7 separate regions of the Homo sapiens genome follow, and regions 2, 3, 4, 5, 6 and 7 are each linked to region 1. The links are contacts of gene promoters, found by promoter capture Hi-C in blood cells and fetal thymus (Javierre and others, 2016). All regions are on one chromosome and are shown on one strand. Each heading gives the region's core, a stretch centred on a gene start or on the middle of the fragment in contact. The rest is flanking DNA. Distances are from core to core; before and after follow the strand shown. Region 1 holds the start of LSM8 (LSM8 homolog, U6 small nuclear RNA associated). Region 2 overlaps POT1 (protection of telomeres 1). Region 3 overlaps IMMP2L (inner mitochondrial membrane peptidase subunit 2). Region 4 holds the start of LOC105375456 (a long non-coding RNA gene). Region 5 overlaps IFRD1 (interferon related developmental regulator 1). Region 6 holds the start of NDUFA5 (NADH:ubiquinone oxidoreductase subunit A5). Region 7 holds the start of IQUB (IQ motif and ubiquitin domain containing).

Evidence for each region. Contacts are between HindIII fragments. The CHiCAGO score rates a contact against its expected background, and 5 or more counts as called.
Region 2: a contact is called between a fragment that was not itself captured here and the fragment with the promoter of LSM8 in region 1, in 1 of 17 cell types (total B cells). The highest score is 5.1, in total B cells.
Region 3: a fragment that was not itself captured here is called in contact with the fragment with the promoter of LSM8 in region 1 in 1 of 17 cell types (total CD8 T cells); the score reaches 6.0 in total CD8 T cells.
Region 4: a contact is called between a fragment that was not itself captured here and the fragment with the promoter of LSM8 in region 1, in 1 of 17 cell types (naive CD8 T cells). The highest score is 6.4, in naive CD8 T cells.
Region 5: a contact is called between a fragment that was not itself captured here and the fragment with the promoter of LSM8 in region 1, in 1 of 17 cell types (naive CD4 T cells). The highest score is 5.0, in naive CD4 T cells.
Region 6: the fragment with the promoter of NDUFA5 here is called in contact with the fragment with the promoter of LSM8 in region 1 in 2 of 17 cell types (total B cells and total CD8 T cells); the score reaches 16.6 in total B cells.
Region 7: the fragment with the promoter of IQUB here is called in contact with the fragment with the promoter of LSM8 in region 1 in 2 of 17 cell types (total B cells and non-activated CD4 T cells); the score reaches 6.9 in total B cells.

What each region holds. Positions count from the first base shown.
Region 1 is chr7:118,182,334-118,186,201 of GRCh38, reverse strand. LSM8 (LSM8 homolog, U6 small nuclear RNA associated) reads right to left here and starts at 2,038. Exons shown (of 4, transcript NM_016200.5): 1 at 1,948-2,038; 2 at 508-548. The coding sequence starts at 1,978. LOC105375470 (a long non-coding RNA gene) reads left to right here and starts at 2,234. Exons shown (of 4, transcript XR_927904.3): 1 at 2,234-2,287. The HindIII fragment of the contact is 4,305 bases long and covers 962-3,868 here.
Region 2 is chr7:124,922,597-124,926,464 of GRCh38, reverse strand. The region is part of intron 2 of POT1 (protection of telomeres 1); the gene reads left to right. Among named protein-coding and RNA genes, the nearest start is that of POT1, 5.3 kb to the left of the region's middle. The HindIII fragment of the contact is 1,307 bases long and covers 1,208-2,514 here.
Region 3 is chr7:111,557,982-111,561,849 of GRCh38, reverse strand. All of the region lies in intron 1 of IMMP2L (inner mitochondrial membrane peptidase subunit 2), which reads left to right. Among named protein-coding and RNA genes, the nearest start is that of IMMP2L, 2.6 kb to the left of the region's middle. The HindIII fragment of the contact is 2,580 bases long and covers 518-3,097 here.
Region 4 is chr7:112,390,498-112,394,365 of GRCh38, reverse strand. LOC105375456 (a long non-coding RNA gene) reads left to right here and starts at 3,029. Exons shown (of 3, transcript XR_927870.3): 1 at 3,029-3,083. RefSeq lists an enhancer at 1,589-2,098. The HindIII fragment of the contact is 2,924 bases long and covers 295-3,218 here.
Region 5 is chr7:112,458,310-112,462,177 of GRCh38, reverse strand. IFRD1 (interferon related developmental regulator 1) reads right to left here. Exons shown (of 12, transcript NM_001550.4): 5 at 3,160-3,317; 6 at 262-312; 7 at 1-177. Among named protein-coding and RNA genes, the nearest start is that of IFRD1, 9.8 kb to the right of the region's middle. The HindIII fragment of the contact is 212 bases long and covers 1,145-1,356 here.
Region 6 is chr7:123,555,957-123,559,824 of GRCh38, reverse strand. It overlaps NDUFA5 (NADH:ubiquinone oxidoreductase subunit A5), which reads left to right and starts at 2,007. Exons shown (of 5, transcript NM_005000.5): 1 at 2,007-2,050; 2 at 2,377-2,421. The coding sequence starts at 2,030. RefSeq lists enhancers at 1,530-1,669, 1,930-1,979, 1,720-2,298, 1,535-2,734, 2,299-2,877. The HindIII fragment of the contact is 10,047 bases long and covers 1,009-3,868 here.
Region 7 is chr7:123,533,274-123,537,141 of GRCh38, reverse strand. IQUB (IQ motif and ubiquitin domain containing) reads left to right here and starts at 2,547. Exons shown (of 13, transcript NM_178827.5): 1 at 2,547-2,650. It overlaps LOC124901740 (a long non-coding RNA gene), which reads right to left and starts at 2,611. Exons shown (of 2, transcript XR_007060507.1): 1 at 1,717-2,611; 2 at 883-1,537. It overlaps NDUFA5 (NADH:ubiquinone oxidoreductase subunit A5), which reads left to right. Exons shown (of 5, transcript NM_005000.5): 5 at 1-145. RefSeq lists an enhancer at 1,661-1,800 and silencers at 1,871-2,000, 2,081-2,230, 2,251-2,480. The HindIII fragment of the contact is 3,094 bases long and covers 91-3,184 here.

The sequences.
Region 1 (3,868 bases), core at 789-3,288:
ACAAGCCAATTTTACATATATATGTGTATATATAGAGAGTCAATCATCATAATGTGTCCTACAGAAGACATGTCACACAACCTAAAAACAAAGAATATTAAGATTGTATACAAGCCTTAAATGTTATCTAGATATTAATAGTATCTAAATCATTAAAAAGTTACTAAGCATATGCAAAATTTCAAAAAAATTCTGATTCATGTGGTGCTGAATGGGGAAGGAAATAAAAATGGAAGAAGAAAAGTAAGTTTAATAAAGGTCTACAGACTAGGAGCTCTCTGAGGGCAGAATCTATTATTCTAGCTCCGAGAAACCTTGTAGGTAACACACAATGTTTATTAGTGAGGAAAACATGGATTGACAGCAAAGTGATAAAGAGCTGAATTATAATAAAATTGCACTACGGGTGTAATGTGCTGTCTAGGCATTAGAGATTAGAGGTTTCACATAAAACTTGCAACCAATAAACCTACAGGAAAGCAGAGAATGAAAATTCCAAAGACTTACCACAATCATTCTCCCATCTGATGTAATAACGGCAACAGTTCCTGATAACTGAATCAAAGAAAGTGTTTCTTAGGGAATGCAAATTGAAAACAGACTCTGGCAAGGGAATGATTTGAATTTTTAGAATAAATATGACAACTAGGTATAAGTATTCAACACAGCCACTAAGTTCACTACATAAAAACGTTAAAAGTTTCTTAGACGCCAAGGCAGGAGGATCACTTGAGGTGAGACCAGCTTGGGCAACACAGCGATACCCCCATCTCTATTACCCTGGCCTGGTGACCTATAGTCCCAGCTACTCAGGAGGCAGAGGCAGAGGCAGGAGGATTGCTTGGGCTCAGGAGTTCAAGGTTGCATTGAGCCATGATCAAGCCACTGCACTCCAGCCTGGGCAACAGAGTGAGACCCTCGACTCAAAAAAAGAAAAAAAAAAAAAAACTTAAAAAAAGCTTCTGTTTTTGTCTTTGTGATAATTACATGATTAAAAAAGGGAAAAAATAGAAAAAGAAAACCTCTTTCTGTATGTGATCGGTGTATCTTATCTCAAAATATCCTGGATTTTTGACACTTTTCTACTAGGAAGGTTACCAATCTATTATTTCAGGCAGGATATTTCGTTTCTTAGGCCTGTTTATTTCTAAAATGAAAAGTGGATGAGTACTAAATTAATCGATGTTGGACGATTTTCCAGCATGTTAAAAAACTGTCTTCCAGGACAGGCTTCTGTAATTCAAAAGTAAAGAAACTATATAAGCAGTGTCACAGGGTACCAATAACGCATCATTAAAAGCATTCGGTATTTAATTTTTGTCACCCAGTTTGTACCTGAGCTTAACGTAGTGTTTTTGTCCTAAGACTTTAAAACGGTAACACTTGTAAAGTCTATTTTAAGACTTCCCATGGGGTTGTTACTTGCTCCTCACTATAATCCATTACAACAGCAACCATTTTTTTTCATTCTACCAACAAGTTGGGACTTCAAGTGGTAAAGGGACAGAAACAGTCTGTGAACCATCGTTAAACTTTTTGCTATCCTCGAACGAGCAAATTATGTGAATAAAACAAGTACAAAGATTTGCAAAACTGTTGTCGCCGCCAGGACGACTGTTCATCTTATTCACAAACTTTAACACTTATGCCATAGGGAAATAGTAAGTAAGAATCAAGAGCGTACATTTTTTTTAAGACAGAAAAGTTCGGAATAATCACACTGGGTTTTTATTTGGGTTTTGCAGGCAAAATGGAAAGGACCCCTGGGCCCGCAGCAGCGGGAAGGCTCGAGGCGCCGCCGGCGAACTCTGGGTCGTTCCGGGGCCCTCATCTCCTCGCCCGCCCCCAGGATCCCGCCGAGGCCAGGCCTCCCAACCTCCCACCGATCCCCGACCGCGGCCTCTCCGCGACCCCGGCTCACGCCCGCGGCGGCCAGCTTGAGGATACGGTTGATGTAGTTCTCCAAAGCGGACGTCATGCTGTTCGGCCCGGCGGTTCCGGGTAACGCAGCGGTGCCGACAGCAAGCAGAACTGAAAGGGCGCGCCAGAACCCGGCAGCGGATAGCGCCTGCGGGTCGCAGCAAATATCGTGAGAGTTGCTGCTCCGCAGCCCTGTGAGTCGGAAATTGGGACGAACTGGCCAACCAAACAGAAGCCGCACAGCGGTGACGAGAGAGTGCGCGTGCGCAGTGTGTTTTCTCTGTAATTCTGGGCCGTGTTCCGGAAGCCTCGTAAGACAAAAGCGAACGAGAGGCGGAAAAAAGGAAGACGCTTCCTGAAGTTGGGGGTATGAGACAGAAGTTGGGGGTATGAGACAGAAGTTGGGGGAGAGTGGGTTTCCAATCCGAGTAAAAGGCAGTGTGGTGGAAGTTAACAAGAGAAAATGTTGAGACGAGGTAGAGCAGGCAGGAATAAACGAAGTAAGGTGTTTTTATTAGGAGTGAAGGAGAGAGACGAGTGCTGTTGTGTGAAACGTAGGTGCGGGTAGTTGAATCCCTAGTTTTCTGCAGCAGAAGCCGAAAATAACGCTAAAAATAAGTTCAGTTGCCCGGGACAGAGTTGCGCACGTTATAACCACACGGTGTACGCCTCTTAAGAACTCAGCAGTGAAATACACTTTCGTATGTTCTGCTTTTGTCTCTAAAAGTGTTCCAAAATGGAGGTGTTTTTACTTTTTAAAGAAACTAAATGCAAATAGGCAAAGGTGTGTGACCATCCCTTAGAAAACGAATGTCCACGCTTCTGCCACGCCAGGATGGTCTACCTTTCTTCAGGGTGAAATTAGTAAGTAAAAGGCTGCTGCAGCACCGAGAAAGGACCGATGCAGGAAGGATGCAGGAAGGCACCAAACTTGGTTCTAATCTTGGCTCTGCTAACAAATTGGTGTCATTGCACAGGTCACTTCAATTCTTCTGGGCCTCAGTTTCGTTAGATAGTCCCATAGGTATCATTTCAGATATTTCCCAATGCGATACTGTTCCCACTTCATTTACTGTTGCCCTAACTTGAGAGAGCTTGAAGTTAGAAAGAGATTTATACACAAAACACCAGCAGGAGCGATTTCCCTTTTTTGCAAAATATCTTTATAATTTCAGTTAAACATGTATTTTCTTAAGATTTGTGGCTTTGTAATAACTCTTGCAATGTCAGCAGTTTTCCTCGGAAAAGGAAGCATTTCTTAATTAGAGCATACCCACAAGATACTCCCAAATAGTTAATATTTTATATTCTGGAACTTATTCCTATCTGTTTGAAATCAAATGTAGTCAGGAATTAGATTGTGAATGTCTCATATTCTCAGGGTAACAAATGAAAGTGTCTTCCGCTAATGAAAGAACAAAGATAATTGTGTGATTTGCAAATGTTAGGTGTTGAACCAAAACCCAAAGACTAATTAATGATTAACGAGGTGTTAGGAGTTTTGTTAAAAAAAGAAATTGCTGGGCATGTTGGTGGGTTCCTGTAACCCCAGCTACTCTGGAGGGTGAGGCAGGAGAATTGCTTCAACCCGGGAGGCGGAGGTTACAGTGAGCTGAGATCACGCCATTCCACTCCAGCCTGGGCGACAAAAGCGAAACTCCATTTCAAAAACAAACAAACAAAAAAACCTCTGTGTGATCTTATAAAAATGAGGCCGGGTGCAGTTGCTAACATCTGTAATCCCAGCACTTTGGGAGGCCAAAGCGGGTGGATCACAAGGTCAAGAGATCAACACCATCCTGGCCAACGTGGTGAAACCCCCTCTCTACTAAAATACAAAGATTAGCCAGCATGGTGGCGGGCACCTGTAGTCCCATATACCAGGGAGGCAGAGGCAGGAGAACCACTAGAACCTGGGAGGTGAAGTTTGCGGTGAGCGAAGATTGTG
Region 2 (3,868 bases), core at 612-3,111, 6.7 Mb before region 1:
ATTCCTTTTTCTTTGCACCCCAATGTCTGTTTTTTCTTTGTCTTTTTAATACCCATTCTGATTGGTGTAAGGTGATATTTCATTGTGGTTTTAATCTGCATTTTACTGATGATTAGTTATATTGAACATTTTATCATGTGCTTGTTGGCTATTTGTTTATCTTCTTCTGAAAAATGTTCATGTCCTTAGCCCACTTTTTAATGGGCTTATTTGGGGGTTTTTTGGTTGAGTCCCTTGTAAATTCTGGATATTAGTCCTCTGTTGAATGTATAGTTTGCAAATATTTTCTCTCATTCCTGAGATTGTTCATTCTGTTATTTCTTTTGTAGCACAGAAGCTTTTTAGCTTAATTAAGTTTCATTTGTCTATTTGTGTTTTTATTGCCTGTGCTTTTGAGGTCTTAGTCATGAATTGTTTGCCTAAACCAATATCTAGAAGAGTTTTTCCTAGGTTTTCTTCTATATTTTTATAGTTTTGGGTCTTACATTCAAATCTTTAATCCGTCTTAAGTTTATTTTCGTGTATGGTGACATATACGTTCCAGTTTCACTCTTCTGCATGTGGCAATCCCGTTTTCCCAGCACCATTAATTGAAAAGTGTGTCTTCTCCCCAGTGTAGTGTTCTTGCCATCTTTGTCATAGATCAGTTGGCTGTAAGTATTTGACTTTATTTCTGGTTTCTCTATTTTGTTCCATTTATCTGTGTGTCTATTTTTATACTAGTACCATGCTATTTTGGTTGCTGTAGCCTTGTAATACATTTTGAAGTGAGGCAACGTGTACCTCCAGCATTGTTCTTTTTGATTAGGATTGCTTTGGCAATTTGGGTTCTTTTTTGGTTCCATATGAACTTTAGAATTGTTTTTTTCTAATTCTGTGAAGAATGACATCAGTAATTTGATAAGGATTGCATTGAATCTGTAGCTTTGGGAAGTATGTTCATTTTAATAATATTAATTCTTCTGATCCACGAGCATGGGATGTTTTTCCATTTTTTTATGTTGTTTACAATTTATTTCATCCGTCCTTTGTAGTTTTCCTTGCAGAGATCTTTCACCTTGTTAGTTAAATATATTCCTAGGCATTTTATTTTATTTTTGTAGCTGTTGTAAATGGGATTGCATTCTTGATTTGGTACTCAGCTAGATTTTTATTGATGTATAGAAACATTACTGATTTTTGTACATTGATTTTGTATCCTGAAGCTTTACTTAATTTACCAACCTAAGAGATTTTTGGTGGAGTCTTGAGGGCTTTCTGTATACAAGATCATATCATTAGCCAACTATGATAATTTGCTACTTCTTTCCCAATTTGGATGCCTTTTGTTTTTTTCCCTTGCCTCATTGTTCTGGCTAGGACTTGCAGTACTATATTGAGTAAGAGTGGTGAAAGTGGGTATCCTTATCTTGTTCCAATTCTTAGAGGGAATCTTTTCAACTTTTCCCCAATTCAGTATTATGTTGGCTGTGGATTTGTCATACATGACCTTTATTATGTTGAGGGATGTTCCTTCTCTATCTAGTTTGTTGAGGATTTTTGTCATGAATGGAAGATGAATTTTATCAAATGCTTTTTCTTCATCTGTTGGGATGATCATCTGGTTTTTGTCCTTAATTCTGTTTATGTGATGTATAACACTTACTGATTTGCGTATGTTGAACTATTCTTGCGTCCCTGAGATAAATCTCACTTGATCATGGTGTATGATCTTTTTGACATGCTGTTGGATTCAATTTGCTAGTATTTTGTTAATAATTTTGCATCGATGTCATCAGAGATACTAGTCTGTAGTTTTTGTTTTTGTGTTCTTTGTCTGGTTTTGATATCAGGGTGATACCTTGTAGAATGAGTTAGGGAGAATTCCCTCCTCAGTAGTTTTGGAATAGTTTCAGGTGGATTGGTGTTAGTTCTTTTTGTGTTTTGTACATCTAGGCTGTGAATCCATCTGGTCCTGGACTTTCTTTTATTGGGATTTTTTTATTACTGATACAGTCTTGCTGTCATCATTGATCTGTTCAGGAATTCTCTTTCTTCCTGGGTCAGTCTTGGGAGGCTGTATGTTTCCAGCAATTTATCCATTTTCTCTTGGTTTTCTAGTTTATGGGCATATAGTTATACATAGTAGTCTCTAATTACCTTTAGAATTTCTGTGGTATCAGTTGTAATGTCTCTTTTTTCCTCTCTGATTTTATTTGGATCTTTTCTCTCCTTTTCTTGGTTAGTCTAGCTGGTAGTTCATCAATTTTGTTTCTCTCTTTAAATAACCAACTTTTTTTTCATTGATCCTTTGGGTTTTTTTTTTTTTGGATTTTTGTTCATTTAGTTCTGCTCTGATCTTTGTTATTTCTTTGCTTCTGCTAACTCTGACTTTCGTTTGTTCTTGTTTTTCTGGTTTCATTGAGGTGTGATGCTAGTGTGTTAATTTGTGATCTTTCTACTTTTTTTCACTACTGAGTCCCGCGTTGTTTGCTTATCTGGGAAATTTTTTATATCTCTTTTATTTATTAAGCTTATTCTGGCAGGATATAAAATTTTGGCTTACAGTTTTTTTGTTTGTTTGTTTGTTTGTTTGAGCACTTGGAAAATGTTATTCTTTCTCTTCTGGCCTGTAAGATTTCTGCTGAAAAGTCCAGTTAGTTTTATAATGTTTTCTTTATAGGTGACTAGATAGATGCTTTTCTCTTGGTAATTTTAAGATTTTTTTTTTTTTAACTTTGACTTTACACATTCTGAATATAATGTGTATGATGAAGTCCTTTTTGCAGTGTATTTTCCTGGGGATAGCTGGGCCTCCTGTATCTGGATGTCTGATGCTCTTGCTAGACTTAGGAAGTTTTCATTGATTATTTCCTTAAATAGGTTTTTTTAACTTTCTAATCTCTCTTCCCCCTTAGGAATACTGATAATTCATATGTTTGTTTGCTTTATGTAGTCCTGGACATCTCAAATGGCTTTGCTCATTCCTTTTTATGCTTTTTCCTATTTTTGCCTGACCGCATTATTTCAAAATTTCGTTCTGTCTTCAGGTTCTGAGATTCTTTCTTTTGCTTGATCTAATCTGTTATTGAATCTTTTGAATATATTTTGTATTTTCTTCAATTTTTTAATTCATGGTTTCCGTTTTCTTTTCTTTTTTTAAAGATGTCTGTCTCATTGGTAAATCTCTCATTCATAAACAGAATTCATTTTCTGATTTCTTTGTATTGGTTTTCAGATTTCTCTTGAATCTCATTAAACTTCTTTAAAATCACTATTTTGAATTCTTTATCTGGCATTTCGAGGAATTTTTTTTAATTGATATATATTGCTAGATAATTGTTGTGGTCTTTTGGTGATATCATATTTCCCTGCTTTTTCATGTTTCCTGTGCCCTTCCTTTGATATCTGTGCATCTAGTGTAGCAATTGCTTGTTCTATTTTTTTTGAAATTGCATTTGTAGCAAAGAAATGTTTTCTGAAGATGTATGTATGTTGTTGGTTAAGATACTTTGGCTTTGATTTTGGGTGCCTGTGGTAGTGTGGCCCTTATATTGAGTGTATGAACATTTCCTTTCTTTTTCAACTTACTTATGGTTTGGTATTTTAAGTATCTGTTAGCATATAACGGGATCATGCTTTTTTGATCCAGTCTGACAGTCTCACTATTTAATCAGCATAGTCAATTTATGTAAAATAATTATTGATATGGTTTTGTTTGTCTGTCAAACAATTTGAGTTCCCTTTGTTTTGCCTGTTTTTTGTTCTCCTTCCTGAGTTCTTTTGGGTTAAATATTTTTTATTCTATTTTATTTTCACCATTGGCTTTGAGCAACACCCGTTTTGTTCCTTTAGTGGTTATGCTAGTACTAACAATATACATCCTTAC
Region 3 (3,868 bases), core at 558-3,057, 6.6 Mb after region 1:
TAAGTAAGGAATGGTCAGGGGTGGAAGGACCTAGGACTTTATCCTGAGAGCGAGCGAGAGAGAGAAGGGCTAGATGTCCAGAACTGCTCGTGGGGAACTTGGGCCCAGATTCTACCTTTTCATCGGGAACTGGAGGACCCACCTTCAAAGTCACAGGCTCCAGGCCCCGGACTGTTTTCAGCCTCACACAGTCTATAGAGTTTAACAGCTTGGGCATGTGGATCCCTTTTAGCCCCTTGACCCGACAGAAAACTGCACTTCCCCTTTACCTGTTTTTACCTTGGAACATTGGTCCTCTCTAGTTGTCTGTCTCCGGCCCCTATCTTATTAGCCAGCTTTGACTAATCCCTGAGACCATAGCACTAAAGAATCCAGGTCCTGTTTGATAATGAACAGTAACCCCCCTAGGGATGTTTACATTTTAAAAGGGTACTCCTGAAAAAATCCTTTAGGACCCCAAAGCATAAAGTTAGTAACAAGATTACAAGTGTTGAAGTTCTTTGGGATCTCTCAAGCTTACAGAAGAAGATGTTTTGAGGGGAGAGAGATGACCAGGCTGGGCCTTTTTCTCTGGGCTTTCACTCTTGGTACCTCCTGGCAAGCATTCCATTCACTTTTGAAAAGTTGCCAAAAAGGACACTGAAGTTCTCTGAGGCTTACTGTGATTTTCAGTGTGGTCTATTTCATTGGTTCTTCTGTGGGACTTTTCTATCACTTCTTTAATACACTGCTTCCCTCTCCCCTGTATGGTGAAATGAAACACAGCTCCTCTCACAAGGTTGGGAGCTCATTATGCATCCTATATGTCACATATAAATAACCGTTTTAAATTAGTTGAAATTCAGATTAGCTACAAGCAGGAATGTAGTAAAACTGCATTCTTGGATTCTTACACAGGAAAAGTAGAATTGCCCTCTGTGATAGGCTGCCTATTCTGATACTGGCTGCCTGTGTCCTGAACGTGCCTATTTGTTTGTGCTCAAGTGATAGGTGACCACATAATTTATGGAAAACAGGAAGTGATTGTTTATTGATAATGGGTTCCTTCATTGATTCAATAGCTAATTCTCTCTTACCATGTGCTACGCACTTTTATCAGCACTTTGATAAAAGTAGGATGGTGAGAATGATGAGATTGTATTGGAGATGGCTGTTTTGGGGTAGGCCTTTCACCAGTTTTGTGGATTTTCTCAATAGTTACATGTTAATTTACAAGACTTTCCCTGTACTACTGATCATAGTGGTTTGCAGGTCTATACAGTGTTGTGGGAGAACAGAATTATTATTCCGCCTTTCTAGTACTTTCAGTAATAAACTTACAAGGATGGCTGACCTTGATGATTTGTTTCCTATAATGAATAATGTTATAGTCATTTTCCAGTGTACGAGTATAATAATTAGATGAGGATAACTTTTGTAGTTGTTCCATAAGAAGGACCTAATATTAGGAATCATGGAGAGTGTAAAGGATGATGTACTTAGAAAAATAAATTCGAAAGTAGACCATTTTTAACTTGCATGGGTTTCTGTGCATTTAGCCTCATTTAAAAGATCTAAGCTAGAATAGTTCTTTGTCTTTTTCTGGTTATAAGAGTAATAAAAAGTCAAAAAAAAGTTATTTAGAATTAAATCTGGGAGGGTATAAAAGGCAATAAGTGAGTTTCCTATGAGTCCACTTTCAGATGACCACTTAACAATTTGATACTTGTTTCTTCAACTTTTTGTTCCATATATACACATACTAAATATGCAGCTTAAGTATATGTTAAACATGTATACATCTTAACTGCGTATTATATATGGAACATATGTGGAACATAATACATGTTTTATATATATATATTTCACTGTTATTTGATAAAATTGTAAATTTCTTTCTTTTTCTCCTTCTTCTTGGCTATTTACCACCCCTCCTCACTCCACCCCACAACTTCATGTAGAAGTAGCATGACTTTTACAGTCTTTTGGACATGAGCTTGATTTCTGGCTCTTATTTTATTAGCTGTGTCACTTTGGGCCATTAAAATTTCTCTGCTGCTTGATTTCTTATCCATCAAAACAGAACAAAGAGTATATATAAAAGAATGTGTGAAAAAACAGTGCCTGGCATAGAAGTACTTACTTTTAAATTTCCCTCCCTGTTTTTCTATGTGGTCACCCATTACTTTCCTATGATCTTCCTTTTGATTGTGGAAAGCCATGTAGTGCCTAACTTTCCTATAGCTGTTAAGCCTCCCTGGGATTTGCTTTTCACAGGGGTTCACCTGGTGTATCTGATCCTAGAATTTCTGGGACGAGGACTGACACCTGATGTGGCCTTATCAGATCATTCCACAGCCTTGGATAAAGAGTGTCAGCTTGAAAAATGAAGGGAAAGAATTTCTATAATGTGTTTAAAAAGCCCTGACACTATTCTTAAAGTGAGAAAGACATATTACTGTATTTAGCTGAGTACTTAAACTTAGGATTTCCATTTTGGAAATGTCTTTGGTTTATAAGGATTACAATAAAAATGCTGATGCTTCATGTCCAAACTGTCATGATTTTGCCAAGTTGTGGATTTAATATACAGCTTAGCTGTGTATTTAGTATATCTGATACTGCTCTGGAAACTGAGAAAGACAAGTTCACAGACATCTGATTTCACACCAGACATCTGGTTTCACTTTACTGAGGAGTATGTTTTGTCAGTAGATTATAGGCATATTAACTGTACTGCTATAGTTTGTGGCATTTCTCTCATAAGCTGTGGTCTGTAGGGTTTAGTATGATGTTTTAGTCAAATGACAGCCCACCGAAAATGAGCACCTGGTCAGATAAGCACATTTCCCATAGGTTTCTTCTAGTGTCATTGTTCTTACAAGTTAACAAGGCAAAATCATTCTATCTTTGGTGGCTTTTGTATTTTTTGTGGAAGCAAGAAAATATTCTTAAAGAAAAGCCTTACTTAAGAACCCATTGTATTCCACAAGTTCATTTTCAAGTCTGTTGTTTGTAAAGTTAACAATGTACTTATAGGAATAAATAGCATTTAGATTTCCAGATCAGAACCCCAGGAAATCTAGTACTTACTTTCCTAAAGGTACTAAGGAAAGCTTTTTAAACTCATTGTGTGCTTATTATATATTAGTGGTACTGTAGACTCTAATCAACATATATAATAGTGTTTTGGAGGTAAGTGTCTCCTGAGTGCCAACCTAGAATGGCTGGACCACGTCTCCCTCCATTTTGAGGTAGTGAGGGGTATAGAAAAAGCTCTGGAGGTTGTCATTCTTAGGTTTTCAGGCAGGGCCTGTTATTGCTTAACTGTTGACCTTGGACACAAATTCCTCATCTATAAATGGGATAATTACTTATGATTACTGTGAAATTCAGTGAGTGAGTGTAATGTGGCACAGAATCTGCCGTAAAATAAATTCTCAGTAAATAGTTGTTTCATTTTTCCTCAAAGTCCTAGACACAAGAACAAAGATACCCTTCTATCCCTTGCCCTTGCATCCAGATTAAGTCACTGGCCTGGACCTGTGGCTCCATTGGAGGGGAACTACCCATGGTATTGGGGATTTGGTAGTGAGGACTCAGAAGGGGTCATGCAGAATAATGACAAAGGAGAGGGGTTGTGAACTGAGAGAAAGGTGGCAGTCTTTTGCTCAGTCCATGAATTTAGATCAATGAATTACTTGTTTCCTAGAAAGAACCATCTTTTTCTCTGGCTTCTCTGTTGATCTTTGTCAACTGTTCCGCTGGAAACTCTTACCTTCTTAATGTCTACTTAGTCCAATAATAAGTTTTTTTCTTTGTCATCTTCATACTACCTGAATAACCATATTTTTCTATTTTTTTTAATGGTTAGGACTTAGTAATGGAT
Region 4 (3,868 bases), core at 507-3,006, 5.8 Mb after region 1:
GATGGCGCCACTGCCCTCCAGCCTAGGCAACAGGGCAAGACTCTATCTCAAAAAAAAAAAAAAAAAAAAAAGACCATCAAAGGAAGATCATATGAGAAAGGAAAAGGGCTTAGGGCAGAGCACTGAGGATTTTACATTAAGAAAGAAAGAAGGGAAGCAGGCAGGGGACCAACCAGTCCTATCAGCAGCCTTGGATGGAGCTGGGGTAATGTGAGCAGAGGAGGAAGAGGCAAATTGGAGGGCAAGGAGCTGCCACCTTGGCTCTTTGCTCTCACAGGTGGGATGCTAGAAGCTTGTTCCATGTAGAGGGAGCTGAAGGTGGGGGAGATGGATCAACAGTTTCTCATTCTTCCTGAGGACTTCCACATACCAAGCAGAGATTCTCTGATCCTAGGATTCAGTAATCTGAGGGAAAGGGATGGGAATTGCATTATGCCATGCTTGCATTGCTATAAAGAAATATCTGAGGCTGGATAATTTCTAAGAAAAGAGGTTTAATTGGCTTACAGTTCCGCAGGCTCTACAGGAAGCATAGCGCCAGCATCTCACAATCATGACAGAAGATGAAGAGGGAGCAGGAGCAAGAGAGAGGTGAGGAGGTGCCACACACTTTTAAACAACCAGATCTCACGAAAACTCAGTCACTATTGCAAGAACAGCACCAAGGGGACGGTGTTAGAGCATTCATGAGAAATCCGTCCTCATGATCTAATCACCCTCCCACCAGCGGCCACCTCCAACACTGGGGATTATATTTTGACATGAGATTTGGGTGGGGACAAGTATCCAAACTATATCAGGGACATTAACTGCACACAGCAGAACAACAAACGAAATCAGTCACCCCTACCTCCCACACTGTATCTGCACCTGCTCTTTTAGGTATGGGCAATACGTTCCAACTGACATTTCACTGGTGCCCGCAAAGTTCCAGACGCTGTTCAGGATACTGAGGATTTAGAAATAGTTTAAATGCAGTTACTACCCCAAGGAGCCTACAGCAAGGGGAGGAAAGCAAACATATTTATAAATAAATTAGAATTCAGTGTGATGAGTCTAACTATAAAAACGTGTAAGGAACAGGAGTAATAAAGAGGAGAAAGTGAAGAACTCTGCTTGGATGAGAATAGAAGGACGGGTGGTCAGGAATGCCCAGCTAGATGTAGATGACCCCAAGTCATAAAGGAAATCTTACATTTTATATCACACACTCTGTTTAAGATTTATTCATTCAAACAATATTTACTGAATGCCTATTATGTGCCAGGCACTATTCCTTTTTTTTTTTTTTTTTTGAAACAGAGTCTAGCTCTGTCGCCCAGGCTGGAGTGCAGTGGCGCGATCTCGGCTCACTGCAAGCTCCGCCTCCCGGGTTCACGCCATTCTCCTGCCTCAGCCTCCCCAGTAGCTGGGACAACAGGCGCCTGCCACCATGCCCGGCTAATTTTTTTTTGTATTATTAGTAGAGACAGGGTTTCACCGTGTTAGCCAGGATGGTCTCGATCTCCTGACCTCGTGATCCACCCTCCTCGGCCTCCCAAAGTGCTGGGATTACAGGCGTGAGCCACCGCGCGCGGCCTGTGCCAGGCACTATTCTAAAGCAGCCAACAAAACTGACAAAAATCCCTGCTCTTATGGAGCTTGTAAGTTAGTGAGTGGAGACAGATAACAGGTAAACAACTACACAGCATGTGAAAGGGTAAGGGACGGAGGAGCCGGGCACGGTGGCTCACACATGTAACCCCAGCATTTTGGAAGGCCAAGGCGGGCGGATCACTCGGGGGGAGTTTGTGAGAAGCCTGGGCAACATGGTGATACATCGTCTATTCAAAAAAATAAAAATAAAAGATAACCGGGCATGATGGCACGTGTCTGTGGACCCAGCTACTTGGGAGGTTGAGAGAAGGATCACTTGAGCCCAGAAGGTTGAGTCTGCAGTGAGCTGTGATTGTGCCACTGCTCTCCAGCCTTGGCGACAGAGAGAAACTCTGTCTCAAAAAAAAAAATTTCAATGAAGAAAAATAAGATTGGAAGAGAGGATCAGGAAGGCCTGAGGGAGAGTGATTTTTATTTTTTAAAAGATATTCAGGGGAAGCCTCACTAAAAACAGAATATTTGAGCAAATCCCTGAAGGAAATGAGGAAGAAAGCCATGTGGACATAGAATAGTGTTCCAGGAAGAGGGAACAGCAAATGCAAAGGTTCTGAGGTAGAAGCATGGCTGGTGGTGCTGAGGCAGCCGCGTGCCTGGTGGTTCTAAGGTAGACGCGTGCCCGGTGTTTCTGAGGCGGGCGCATGCCCGGTGGCTCTAAGGCGGGCGCGTGCCCGGTGTTTCTGAGGCAGCCGCGGGCCCGGTGTTTCAGAGGCGGACGCATGCCCGGTGTTTCTGAGGCGGGCGCGTGCCCGGTGGCTCTAAGGCGGGCGCGTGCCCGGTGTTTCTGAGGCAGCCGCGGGCCCGGTGTTTCAGAGGCGGACGCGTGCCCGGTGTTTCAGAGGCGGACGCATGCCCGGTGGCTCTAAGGCGGGCGCGTGCCCGGTGTTTCTGAGGCAGCCGCGGGCCCAGTGTTTCAGAGGCGGACGCGTGCCCGGTGTTTCTGAGGCGGGCGCATGCCCGGTGGCTCTAAGGCGGGCGCGTGCCCGGTGTTTCTGAGGCAGCCGCGGGCCCGGTGTTTCAGAGGCGGACGCGTGCCCGGTGTTTCTGAGGCGGGCGCGTGCCCGGTGTTTCAGAGGCAGCCGCGGGCCCGGTGTTTCAGAGGCGGACGCGTGCCCGGTGTTTCAGAGGCGGACGCATGCCCGGTGGCTCTAAGGCGGGCACGTGCCCGGTGTTTCTGAGGCAGCCGCGGGCCCAGTGTTTCAGAGGCGGACGCGTGCCCGGTGTTTCTGAGGCGGGCGCATGCCCGGTGGCTCTAAGGCGGGCGCGTGCCCGGTGTTTCTGAGGCAGCCGCGGGCCCAGTGTTTCAGAGGCGGACGCGTGCCCGGTGTTTCTGAGGCGGGCGCGTGCCCGGTGTTTCTGAGGCGGACGCGTGCCCGGTGGCTCTGAGGCAGACGCGTGCCTGGTATATTGGGAGAACAGCATAGAACAAAGTGAGTGGGAGCAACGAGAGCAATAAGAAATAAATTAGAAAGCTAAATCAGCTGAGTTAAATAAGTAATAAGTTAGATAAGTTAGATAACCGGTTAGAACCAGTTCCAGTTTGAAGATAGTAAGAATGAGAAGCTTCTGAAATATCGTTGGAGTGAATATATCCAGTGGGAGTGGGCTCTTTGAATCTGGACTTTATTAAGCAAATATTTCTTGAGCACGTGCTATGTGCTAGACATTGAAATAAGTGCTAAGGACATAGAGGTGACCCCAGACACAGTTATTCTTGTCTTCAAGGATCTCAAAATCAGACAAGTAAGCAAATGCTGACAATACATACATAACTGCAATGATAAGGAATAGGAACACCGGGCACCGGGTATGGTGTGCTGGGGAGGGTGTCGAAGGGGCACCTAACACAATTATTCGGAGTGAGGGGGATCAGGGAAGTTTTCCTACAGGAGTGACCTCTAAGCCAAGACTTGAAGTAGAAGCAGTTTGCTCCACAAAGGAGAAAATAGTCTGATTTCTTGACAAGTGTGAGAACCACTGTGCTCCCAAACAATCTACATAGACCTAGGATAAGTAACAAGACAGACATTTACATGGGGTTGCTGCTTTTCAAGGCACTGTCCACATATTATTTTATGAGGCCTTCACGACGATCCTGAGAAGTAAGCAGTGCAGGGTTATTATCACCATTTTACATGTGACCAGGTTGAGGTCCAGAGAGATGAAATGACTCCCCGAGGACACAAGACCAGTACCTGCCAGAACCAGGGCCCGA
Region 5 (3,868 bases), core at 1-2,500, 5.7 Mb after region 1:
CTCAAGCTTTTTCTTCACTTCATTGATTGGGCATATGGTCAGCAGTAGTGTCCATGCAAGAAGAGAGCTGATATGAAGCACTGTATTAGGAGTGCTGCAAATAACAGTAGTGTCTTTCTCTTTGAGATAGGATTTAGTGAAGATATTTTCCAAACATTCCAGAGTTGAGTATAGTTCCTAATGCATAAGAATATGAAGTAAGATAACCATCTTAAATTAGAAATAACTGCAGATAACTAGAATCAAAGGTTTTTTACTTACAGTAATGTCATCTGTGGCAATAAAACAGCAAACACCAAAGCAAGTTGCACACTAAAAAAAAAAATATATATATATAGACATTAATGATTTTATTTCTTATTAATTCTACATCTTCCTGCTTTTATAATTCAACGTGAAAATGTTCTCAGCAGCATAATATATTAGGTCCCAAACATTATACATAAAAGAGGTGAGGAGAGAAAGAATATTGAACTAAGATCAAAGGAAGTGCGTTTCAGCTCAAGCTCTGCTACTAAATTCACAGCATGACTTTAACAAAGTGATTCTGTTCCTCTTCAGTCTTCTTTTATTGATCCATAAAATCAAAAGCATGCAAAAGAATTACATAATTTCTGAAACAATTGCAGCTCCATAATCTATAATTTAAATTATTGAATCATTTTTATGAGTCTATGTCAGTAAAGCATTCTGAAAGGGTGAACTATCCCCTTGTTTCCTTTCTGTATGCTTTACAGGTGCTTACTAGATCATTAAACTTCAACTGTAATTCAAAGATAGAAAGCTTAGACATATGAGCTAAAGAAGCCTACCCTCTATCAAAAAGCCTTTAAAACACATTACAATTCCATTGGTTTTTAAGCTGTTACAACTATATTCTTTTGTTCTTATGAAGACTCTACTATGAAAACTTCTAAAAGAAATCAGCTTCCAAGAAATAAGCACACAGGAGCAGAAATTTCATAAAATGTAAATAATTGTCTTCAAACTTCCCACCTAATTAATTAATTAATCCCATTAACTCAGATTTCACTTATTCTGGATTATGCTGAAAAGAGGCTGGGAATCATATAATTGCCTTTTGTTTGGGGAGGGGAAGGGCTAAACAAAAGTGAGTATAGTATATGATTACAAAGGTAAAGCTTATCGAATAAAACATACTCAGAACACAACACTTACACAAGCCATCTACTTGCAACATAAACAGAAGCCTTCAATTCTCAGAACATTTGTTTTAACAAATTAATCCATATAAAAATAGAATTTGTAATCTGAGATTTTATTATTCTCCATTTCCCCTTTCTCCACATTTTGTCACTAAAATTCCCTCATGTTGTTCTAAGCATTATTAAAGCTTTAAGTCTTTAAAGTCACCATTGGTATCAGGCCCAGGTTTTAGCCAGTCTGTTCCAGTACTATGAGGATATCTGTGATATTAATCTGCTTGGTATCACTATTTTATTGTCATTATATCATCCTAGTAAAAATTGGACACTGTTAAAATCTAAAAGTAGCCTAAGCATTAAAGGAAATTTTCAATCCATAATCCCTACTGCTAAGCAAGCAGCAGAAGCAAGGCTACATCGTTCCTTTTGATGACTCTAAGAAAAACAGCCAATTAAAGAACTAGGACTGGCTGGGTGCGGTGGCTCACACCCATAATCTCAACACTTTTGAGAGACCAAAGCAGGAGGATCACTTGAGCCCAGGAGCTCAAGGCCAGCCTGGGCAATACAGCAAGACCCATCTCTACAAAATATTAAAAGCGAGCCAGACATGGTGGTACATGCCTATAGTCCCAGCTACTCAGGAGGCTGAGGCAGGAGGATAACCTGAGCCCAGGAGGTGGAGGCTGCAGTGAGCCATGATTGTGCTACTGTACTCCAGCCTGGGTAACAGAGTGAGACCTTGTCAAAAAAAAAAAAAAAAAAAAAAACCCTAGGACTGCCTCAATTTAATATGGATTCCATCTGCTAAATGGGGAGGCTAAGGTTTTTTAAAAATTCACAGCAACTTGGAAGTATGGAAAAAAAAGTCTTTAAATGACAAAAAAACTTACATACAATCAAAATTAAGTGACTGCTCCAAAAATCTACCCAGCAGAGTGTTTTCTGTCATTCTAGCATGAAATTATACCAATAGTTCCACATGATTTAAAAGCTGCACATATTCACCCAAAAAGAAGAAAAGAAAAAGTTAAGTAGCAAAAGCTAATTAAATATTTCAGAATTACTAACTACTGGAGGGCACAGAGATTACTATGAAGTTGCCAAACTCCAATTTCTTTGCCTCCAGGGCAAACAGCTAGACTATTCCCAGCCTCCAGGTGGCTGGTAAGCCAAGGAACTAGATGCAAAAGTGATGTGCTCTGGCTGAGTCTGTCACCTAGCTACCCTGGCTGCCATATCGAGAGAACCTAGAGGTGGGCAGAGCTGCAGTGGAGGCCTGGGGTTCCAGCCAATTTACATTGGGTGGTGATGATAAGAAGAAGAAATAAATTTTTACCAAGCTACTTAGACAAAGATTAATGTTACTTACCTTAAGTAACATTATTACTTACCTTAAGTAATACTAACAAGGAAGCTGGATTTGGATAATAAATATTAAAAGTATTAAAATGTTTCAAGCTTAAACTGATTCACTTGTTTAAAAAAACAGCTTAGGATCACATGTTATTTTTCCAAATCCACTAAGACCACCTCAGTGTCTTCTGTTTTCTGTGACACAGTAAAACATCTCCATATGATCACTTGTATCACTTATTACCGCACCAAAAACAAAAAATAAAACCCCCAAAACCCAAAATCTAAAGTCAAGTGTTGCAAGAGGTAAACATCCAACAATTAGAGAATGAAAGCTTTCTCAAACCCCAAAATTAGAAGACTTTCACAAATCAGAATTTCAGTTTCCTATGTCTACCCAAATCCATAAATATAGAATTATCTTTTTTGTTGTTGTTGTTAAAATACAGTGTGTAGCTTTGTCTCCCAGGCTACAGTTCAGTGGCATGATTATAGCTCACCGCTGCCTCAAACTCCTGGACTTACAAGATCCTCTCTCTTGCCTCAGCCTCTTGAGTAGCTGGTACAGTACTATAGGCGCACCACGTCTGGGTGTCATGAATAGACAGATCTATAAATGTAAATATCTTATACTTACAGTTTGCCTAGCCTGCATACTAGCTGACCCATCACAAATGATTTTCTTTAGGATTGGTCCAAGAGTTTTCAAAATCTCTTCACTTTCAATTCCAGGGCCCAGCTGAATACAAAGAACAGATGCTAACGCTGCAGCTGCACGTTGCTCATCACTCTTACCTATAAAAGCAGCCAAGATGCAATCACGATAGTCTTTTCAGTAGACTAACTTACTAAGACAGTTATTTCCCAAATTTGATCAATGACAAAATAGCATTTACCATTTTTGAAACCCCATGCTCCAGGCTTTGATGTAAGTTACAAACTTAGGCTAAAGAGCTCAAACTATAGAAACAGACCTCACTCAAATCCTAGATCCCACTTATTAGCCAAATGATCATCGATTAGTTACTCTTATTCTCTAAATAGAATTCCTCATCTGTAAAATGGAGATTAGTATCTATCTTAAGGGATTATTTTAACAGTTCAACTAAATGTGTTTCAAGCCAATTTCTATCTTCAAACTCCTTAATGTACTCATATAAACAGTGCTCAAATTGCCCTTGAATTAATCTCCTAAGCATTTCGGATGTACACAGTCCATTAGGTAAACCTTCAGGGTTTCCCTACCAACATTTTTAAAAATAAATACGGGATTAAAAATAACTCTTTAAAACCGTAAAAAATACATTTATTAACTTTATTTATTTTTTTTTTTTTTTGAGACAGGG
Region 6 (3,868 bases), core at 758-3,257, 5.4 Mb before region 1:
GAGTGCAATGGCCCAATCTTGGCTCACTGCAACCTCTGCCTCCTGAGTTTGAGTGATTCTCCTGTCTCAGCCTCCAGAGTAGCTGAGATTACAGGCACACACCACAAGGCCTGGCTAATTTTTGTATTTTTAGTAGAGAGAAGGTTTTGTCATGTTGGCCAGGCTGTCTCAAACCCTTGACCTCAGGTGATCCTCCTGCCTCAGCTTCCCAAAGTGCTGGGATTACAGGCATGAGCCACCAGGCCCAGCCGAAGTTTTCTTTTCTTGTTGATTTCTTTGTCTGGTTGGAATCAGAGTCCACACCTGGCTGAAGTTTTTGTTTCTTGTTGATTTCTTTGTCTGGTTGGAATCAGAGTAATACTTGCCTTATAGAATTAGTTGTTAATTGTTTCCTCCTCTTCTATATTTTGGAATAGTTTCTTAAGTGTTATTCTTTAATTGTTCAGTGGAATTTACCAGCGAAGCCATCTGGACCTGTGCTTTTCCTTCTGGATAGGTTTTTTTTTTTTTCTTGCTAATTCAATTTCTTTAATTATGTTAGATCTAGTCAGATTTTTCTTTATGCCTTCTTGAGTTGATTTAGGTAGTTTGTGTTTTTCTAGGAATCTGGCCATTTTATCTACTTTATCTTTTTTAAGCATAGTTGTTCATAGTATTCCTTCTTATTCCTGTTTATTTCAGCAAGGCTATTAGTGATGGTTCTTTTATTCTTGCTTGTATTAAATCTTCTCTCTTTTTTTTCTTAGTTTCACTAAAGGTTTGCCAATTTTGTTGATCCTTTTAGGGAACCAATTCCTGGTTTCATTGATTTTCTTTATTGATATTCTGTCTCCTTCTTTTCTAATCTTTAATATTTCCTTTCTTCTGTTTGCTTTTGGTTTAGCTTTCATTTTTTCTAGTCTCATGCCTCTAATGAAAGGCCTCATCTCTTCCAACTCATTCTCTTCAACTGTTGCCTAAGTTGTTTGTATATCTGAAACATAAATTTGATGGTGTCACTTAGAAGCTTAAAAGTCTTCTCATTGTTCCCATTCCTTAAAAAGTAAAATTCAAATTTTGTATAATGGCAAACAACACCTTTCATAATCTTAACCAGTTTACCTTAACAATCAAACCCACCTTTCCAATCACATAAAATCACCTGGAATTTATATATACATTTTTAACCTCTTTTCCTTTGTACTTGTGTTTTCTCAATTTGTTCTTTTCTCCTACTGACTTTTTAGAAAGTCACCCACGCTTTTTAGTTATTTCCTTTTCCCTGGTACCATCACACTTTGCATCAACTTCTTTTAGAACAGTTACCAAATTATTTATTAATACACGCCTTCTTCATTATTCTTTGAATTCCAGGATGTGAAATCCCATTTTAGAAATTATGTCCCAGTAACTGACACATAGTGAGTGGTCAGTGTTTGTGGAGGTAGGAAAAAGTGGTATGGTCTGATATCATTTCATCTGGAAATAAGATGATGTATTTCAGCCAGTGAAATCGAAAAGAGCGATGGAAAATGACCTCACACTCCATAGGGCTTTGGTTCGTAAGACACAGAGAATACTGATATCCTTGTGCGAAGAACTAACTTGCTGTTGAGAGATCAATTCAGAGGATGCTCAAGCTCCGTTATCACTTTCATTTTACTAAACTGAGAAAGGAAGGTTGAGGAATGCATCAACGGTTAAGCACAGTGCAGGTTCCTACAGCGACTGGAGTTTTTTGGTAGTTGGGAGTGTTTCCCTCAATCTTTGGGCAAGCCGTCAGCAGTGGCAGGAACAGGAACAGACAGCTGGGAAACCCTTTCTTTCCCCAATCGTCTTCTAGCTTAGCTTTAGGCTTGTATGCCCATCGCGCATGCGTCAATTTTTCTCTTTTAAGATGGGCGGGGCAGAGTCTTTGCTCCTTTGGCGATCCTGAAGGGGTGGAGCTAAGCTGTTTCCAGGGTGACAGAGTGGCGACCTCGGTGGTCGATTGAGCAGGTCTGAGAATTGTTCCCAAAGGGTTGTGCGTCACCGAGTCGTTGGCGCTGTCATGGCGGGTGTGCTGAAGAAGGTGAGACGAATGGAGGTCACTGTTGGAATTTAGACTGTGGGGGTAGACTCAGTCCGATAGCCCTACTTCCCGCGGGTGTTGACCCCTACTGTCGCGGGCTCGGCGGTGCTTTTCGGGGACTCGTTCTGCATGCCTTACCGGGTAGGGCAGGTTAGTGGTTCCGCTCCGAGAGTCAGGAAAAAAGCTCCAAACAAGCGAGACTGAGAGACCAGTAGCTGGCTTTAGACCAGTTTTAGCCGGGGGATTCGTGGTTTTGTATTTCCTTAGCGTGCTGGATGTATGGAAACCGTAGTAAACAGCATGAATCGTGTTTTGTTTTTGAACAGACCACTGGCCTTGTGGGATTGGCTGTGTGCAATACTCCTCACGAGGTATGTACCTTTGTTCTTTCTTCGTTCTTGAATTCCCAAGGAAGACTAAATTCCTGTCACTTTGCTTATTGCAGGGTTAACGGGATACAGATGTTTCAAGCCCTTAATTACAAGCCGCGTGAGCTCTTGAGACACGGGCGCTGTCCACCTACTTCGTTGATCCGATGTCACATTTTTATTTATTTTTGCCATGACCTCTTTATTAAGCCAGTTTTCTTGTTGACTTTTTCCTTGACATTTTCATGGCTTCACTTGTGCTTGCTTCTGTCAGCGCCATCTCAAATTTATATCTCCGTTTTCCATCTTTTCTCCTTGCCTTACCGTTTCTGCTTAGGTGCGTTGGATTACATATATTTAGGCTTACTAAAGGTACTGCCCCCTTTTCCTTCTGTTAGGTCTTTTCCATCTGTATTCACGAATGTTTTCATCAAAAAAACCCACAAAATTTTTTTATTCTTCTTGTCCCTTCTATAATCACACCATTTCTTTGCTTCACTTTACAGATAACTCAAAAGAGTTATCTCTATTTTCTCCAATTTCTTTCTTATTCACCCTTGAATGCACTCAGTCACCCTTGGCGTTTTTCAAGTTCACCAATTATCTCCATGCTGCCAAATCCAATGGTCAGCTCATATTTCTCACCTTCATTGACCTAATAGCAGCGTTTTTTGACACATTTGACACTTTTTCCATCACGCTCTTTTCAAGTTCACCAGTTATCTCCATGTTGCCAAATCCAATGGTCAGCTTATGTTTCTCACCTTCATTGACCTAATAGCAGCGTTTTTTTTTTTTTGACACATTTGACACTTTTTCCATCATGCGCTTTCTTTACTGGGCTTCAGGACTCCCCCAGTCTCCTGATTTTTTCCCCCTACTCTTTGGCTTTCTCTTTTTCTGGTTATTTCTCTTATGCCCACTTTTAAAATTTGAGTTAGTCAGGATTTAGTTCTTGGACCTTTTCTTTTGGACCTGTACTCTGTCACCAAGAGAGAGCAAATCCAAATAGAGAACGGTTTTAAATACCACCTATACACTGACAACAGATTTCCATGTAAAGCACTGACCTCTTCCTTTATAAAAGTCCTGAATATTTAATTGCTTAGTGGGCATCTCTATTTGTATGTGTCAGACAGGCAACCCAAACTTAACATGTCCAAAATGGGGTTCCTGATCTTCTGCCTAAAACCTGCTCTTCTCTCAGTCTTGCTCATCTCAATTAATGGCAGCTCAATTATTTTGACTCAGGTCAGAAACTTGAAATCATCTTTGATTCCTTCCTTTCTCTTACACTCCACATTTGTTATTTCAGTAAACCCTCTAGGTTCCACCTTCAAAATATATCTTGATTTTGACAACATCTCACTACCTCCTCTGCTACTACCCTCTTCCTCAGTCACCATCATCACTGATGTGGATAATTGCATTCACTTCTTAACTGCCTCTC
Region 7 (3,868 bases), core at 1,298-3,797, 5.4 Mb before region 1:
AATCCTGAGAAAATGCATAGATTTATCATGAAAAGGAAAATGGAAAATGGTATTGTAAAATTACTCTTTCACTTTTGGAATTGAGAAGCTTTTTCCTATTGGTTGTTTTCATTAAGTTTGAATATAAATTTATTATGTAACCAAACTACATTTGTGTGTATGTGCGTGTATGTGTGCGTGGACAGGATTTTGACATGCTAATAACTTTTCCATGCTCCACAGACTACCCAAGGAAGCCTAACTAAGTTAGGTTCCTATTTAAGATTAAATTGTATAAAGTCATCCTCACAGCAAACTACAAAAAAAAATGAATAGTGGCTATCAAGTCACATTTAACACTGTGAGACACTTAAGTTCTCTCCTACCAGTTTTTCTTCCCCCATCTCCTGACTCTATTCCTAAACCTACTGTTTGCATACCGTCTCTAACATTGAGAACAGTGAATGACAAATTTTAAAGAGGAGACCCAGCAAAGTGAATGTTTAAAACCAGTGGAATGTTTATTAGTAGCAGAATGTAAGATAAATTATGATTTTGGAGATGGGAGTGTATGAGTGTTTGTAAAATCTTATCTGCACACCTCCACACCTGGTCTACCCATCCAAGAAAGCCTAATTCTAGTGGTTACCTCTATGCCCATTTTTCCCCTTTACTTTTCATGAATGTGTGGAAATGATTAAAATGAATTTACTTTTACTGATCATTATTAAAACAAAGCCAATTTTATCTGAATATATATTTCACTATTCTAGTAAAAATATATTTTAAAATGGGATGACTGAAAAAAATGGCATTGGATATTACAAAGTTATTGGGGAGATGAGAGTGCAATTTCAGCAGAACAGTATAAAGAAATAAATGAAGACAATGAACATTTATGAATAAGGGAATGGACCTGTATTAATTTTATTAATCCTTTTAACATATCAAATCAAATTAAACAGTACTGTAATGGTTAAAAAATCTGGGACCTGGAGTTAGATTGCTTAGGTTTAATCCTGGTTCCCTCATTAAACTTTGTGTGCCTTAGTTTTCTCATTTACAAAATGGGTCTAATAGCAGTTTCTCCCTAATAAAATCGTTGTAAGGATTAAATTAGAAATCTATGTACGGTGCCTCATGACAATGAATACTTCATAAATGTTAGCTGCTATTATGAGATAGCAACATGTAGTTTGTTACTAAATTTCCAAGAGGAACATACTTGACTTGACCTCCAATACTATCCTGTGGTTCTTTAAAAGTTTTCTTATTCATTGATAGGCCGGGCGCGGTGGCTCACTCCTGTAATCCCCAACACTTTTGAAGGCGGATTGCTTGAGGCTAGGAGTTCCAGATCAGCCTGGCCAACATGGTGAAACCCCATCTCTACTAAAAATACCAAAATTAGCCGGGGGTGGTGGCGGGCGCCTGTAATCTCAGCTACTCAGGAGGCTGAGGCAGGAGAATCGCGGGAGCCAGGGAGGTAGAGGTTGCATTGAGCCGAGATCGAACCACTGCACTTCAACCTGGGCGACAGAGCAAGACTCTGTATACACTAGAAAAAAAAAAAAAAAAAAGAATTTGTTGTTAGACAAAATTTAGTTTATTAACTAATTTAGTGATTAACAAAAGTTCTTCTAAGCAGAATTATTTGATAGCTACTATCTCCCTTTTCTCTTTGGCTGCCAGGAAGCTGAGAGCCAAGTTGTTAGTTTAACAAAAGCAAGTAGGCACCTGACAGTTTCTCGCCTCTGACTTCATCGTGATGATTTCTCTGACTCGGATTTTTTTTATATCTGTAAAATTAAACTGCTGTCAGTGTTTGGTTTAGAGAGCTGTGCCGTTTCACAAGTGTAAAAGATCTTGGAGAGAAGTTAGTGTCCTGATTCACTTGGATCTAGGTAGCCAGTTGGTAACAGCCTCCGCCTCTGGCTCCTCCCCTTCTCCCTGCCGCGTCCCTCCTCCCCGCCCCTTCGCCTCTGGCCCCGCCCCTTCTCCCTGCCGCTTCCCTCCTCCACGCCCGCTCGCCTCTGACTCCTCCCCTTCTCCCTGACGCGTCCCTCTTCCTGTCTCTTCGCCTCTGGCTCCTCCCCTTTCTCCTGCCATGTTTCTTCTCCCCGCCCCCTCGCCTCTGGCTCCTCCCCCTTTTCCCTATCGCGTTCCTCCTTTGCAGCCCCCATCCCCCTCCTCTGGCTCCTCTTCTTCCCTACCGCGATCCTCCTTCCAGACCCCGGCCCCCAGCCCGCCTCTAGCTCCTTCCCTTATTTCCTGCCGCGCTCCTCCTTCCCGACACCGCCCCTCCGCCTCTGGCTACTCCTCTTCTCTCCTGCCGCACTCCTCCTTCCCGGCCCCACCTCCCCGCCTCTGGCTCATCCCCTTCTCTTCTGCCGCCCTCCTCCTTCCCGGCCCCGCCCCCAGTCTTTGGCTCCTCCCCCTACCCTGCCGCGCTCCTCCTTCCCGGCCCCTCCCCGCTGCCCTCTTCTGGCTCCTCCCCCCCACCCGCCTCTGGCTCCTCTCCTTCCCACCCCTGCCGTGCTCCGGCAGGAAGAGGTGGTGCCAGGGCCGTTGCTAGGATACGACCAACAGCTGAGAACGCGGCGAGTATGGAAGCTGCGTCTTAGGAGCCTGGGAAAGCACTTCGACGAGAATAGTTTGGTTTCGTACACAGGTAGGAGAACAGATTTTGACTGCGGCCTCCTGGTCCGACGCTTAGATCCAGCCTAGAGCCGGTGACAGCCGCGCTGGACTCTGGGTTCTGTGTGCTGGGCAGTGATTCCCACCTGAGCGCCTGGGGCTGCCTAGTCGGTCAGGAATGTTCCGACTTTACTTTAAAAACCGTGCGAAGCATCTCATCTTTCTCGGCTCCTTTTTTGGCTTCCCCTCTCTGATTTGGGACTTGAACCAGCAGCATCAAGCTAGGAGGTACACCTCACCTCACACCCTGGGTGCTTGTCACGGTAATTGCATAGAAGATGTGTGTATAACCCACACCTGGCACTAGAGACTCTTAGCCTTCCGTGGCCACCATTCTCATATTAAGTCGAGAGATTTTAGACTTTCCTCACCTGGCACTCTCACTCCTTCCTCTCCACCCTTGGTCTTTGCCTCTTAACAAACCTAAAAATTCAACAGATCTATTTGGTAGAAGGCAATACTGGATCCCTGCCTCACTAATTATACTACATTCTAAATGTGTTAAGCTTTAAATGGTAGGGAATGAAATGTAGGTGAAAAGGGAGACTTTTTTGTATGCAAACATGATAGAGGTTGCTTTTTAAACAATAAGATTTAAACATTTTCATTTGAATAGATAATACATAAAAAAATAGTTCGAATAGTAAAAAGAATGAAGAGTGAAAATCCTCCATCTACCCATTTCTCCCCATCTCCAGGCCACCTTCCACAGGTGTTTTAGACATACGCAAATATGTAGTTACACCTGTAACATTGTGCATACTCTTCTGTGATTGGCTTTTACACTTAAGACTGTGTGTCCAGTTGTTTTCTATCAATATTTACAGATCTGTCTCATTTATGCATTTATGGATGAATTTATGTATTTATGTTTCATTGTGAGAAGGTGTTTCGAAGCATGTCAGGAAATTTGGAAACTCTCATAAGCAAAAAGATTGATAAATGTCACTACCTAACAATCTAAAACTTTTATATAGTAAGAGAAAAACAACATCAAACATACAATGGGAAATATAAGGGCAACACACAACAAAGGGATATTTAATTATTAGGACTCATAAAACAATATGAGGATGTAAGGAAACAGTCAAGGGGAACTTCTTGGGGCTATAATAGAAAACAGTTTGATGGAATTTAACAAAATTAAGATCTGTATGCCCTTTGACTTGTCCATTCTAATTCTGGGAACTCA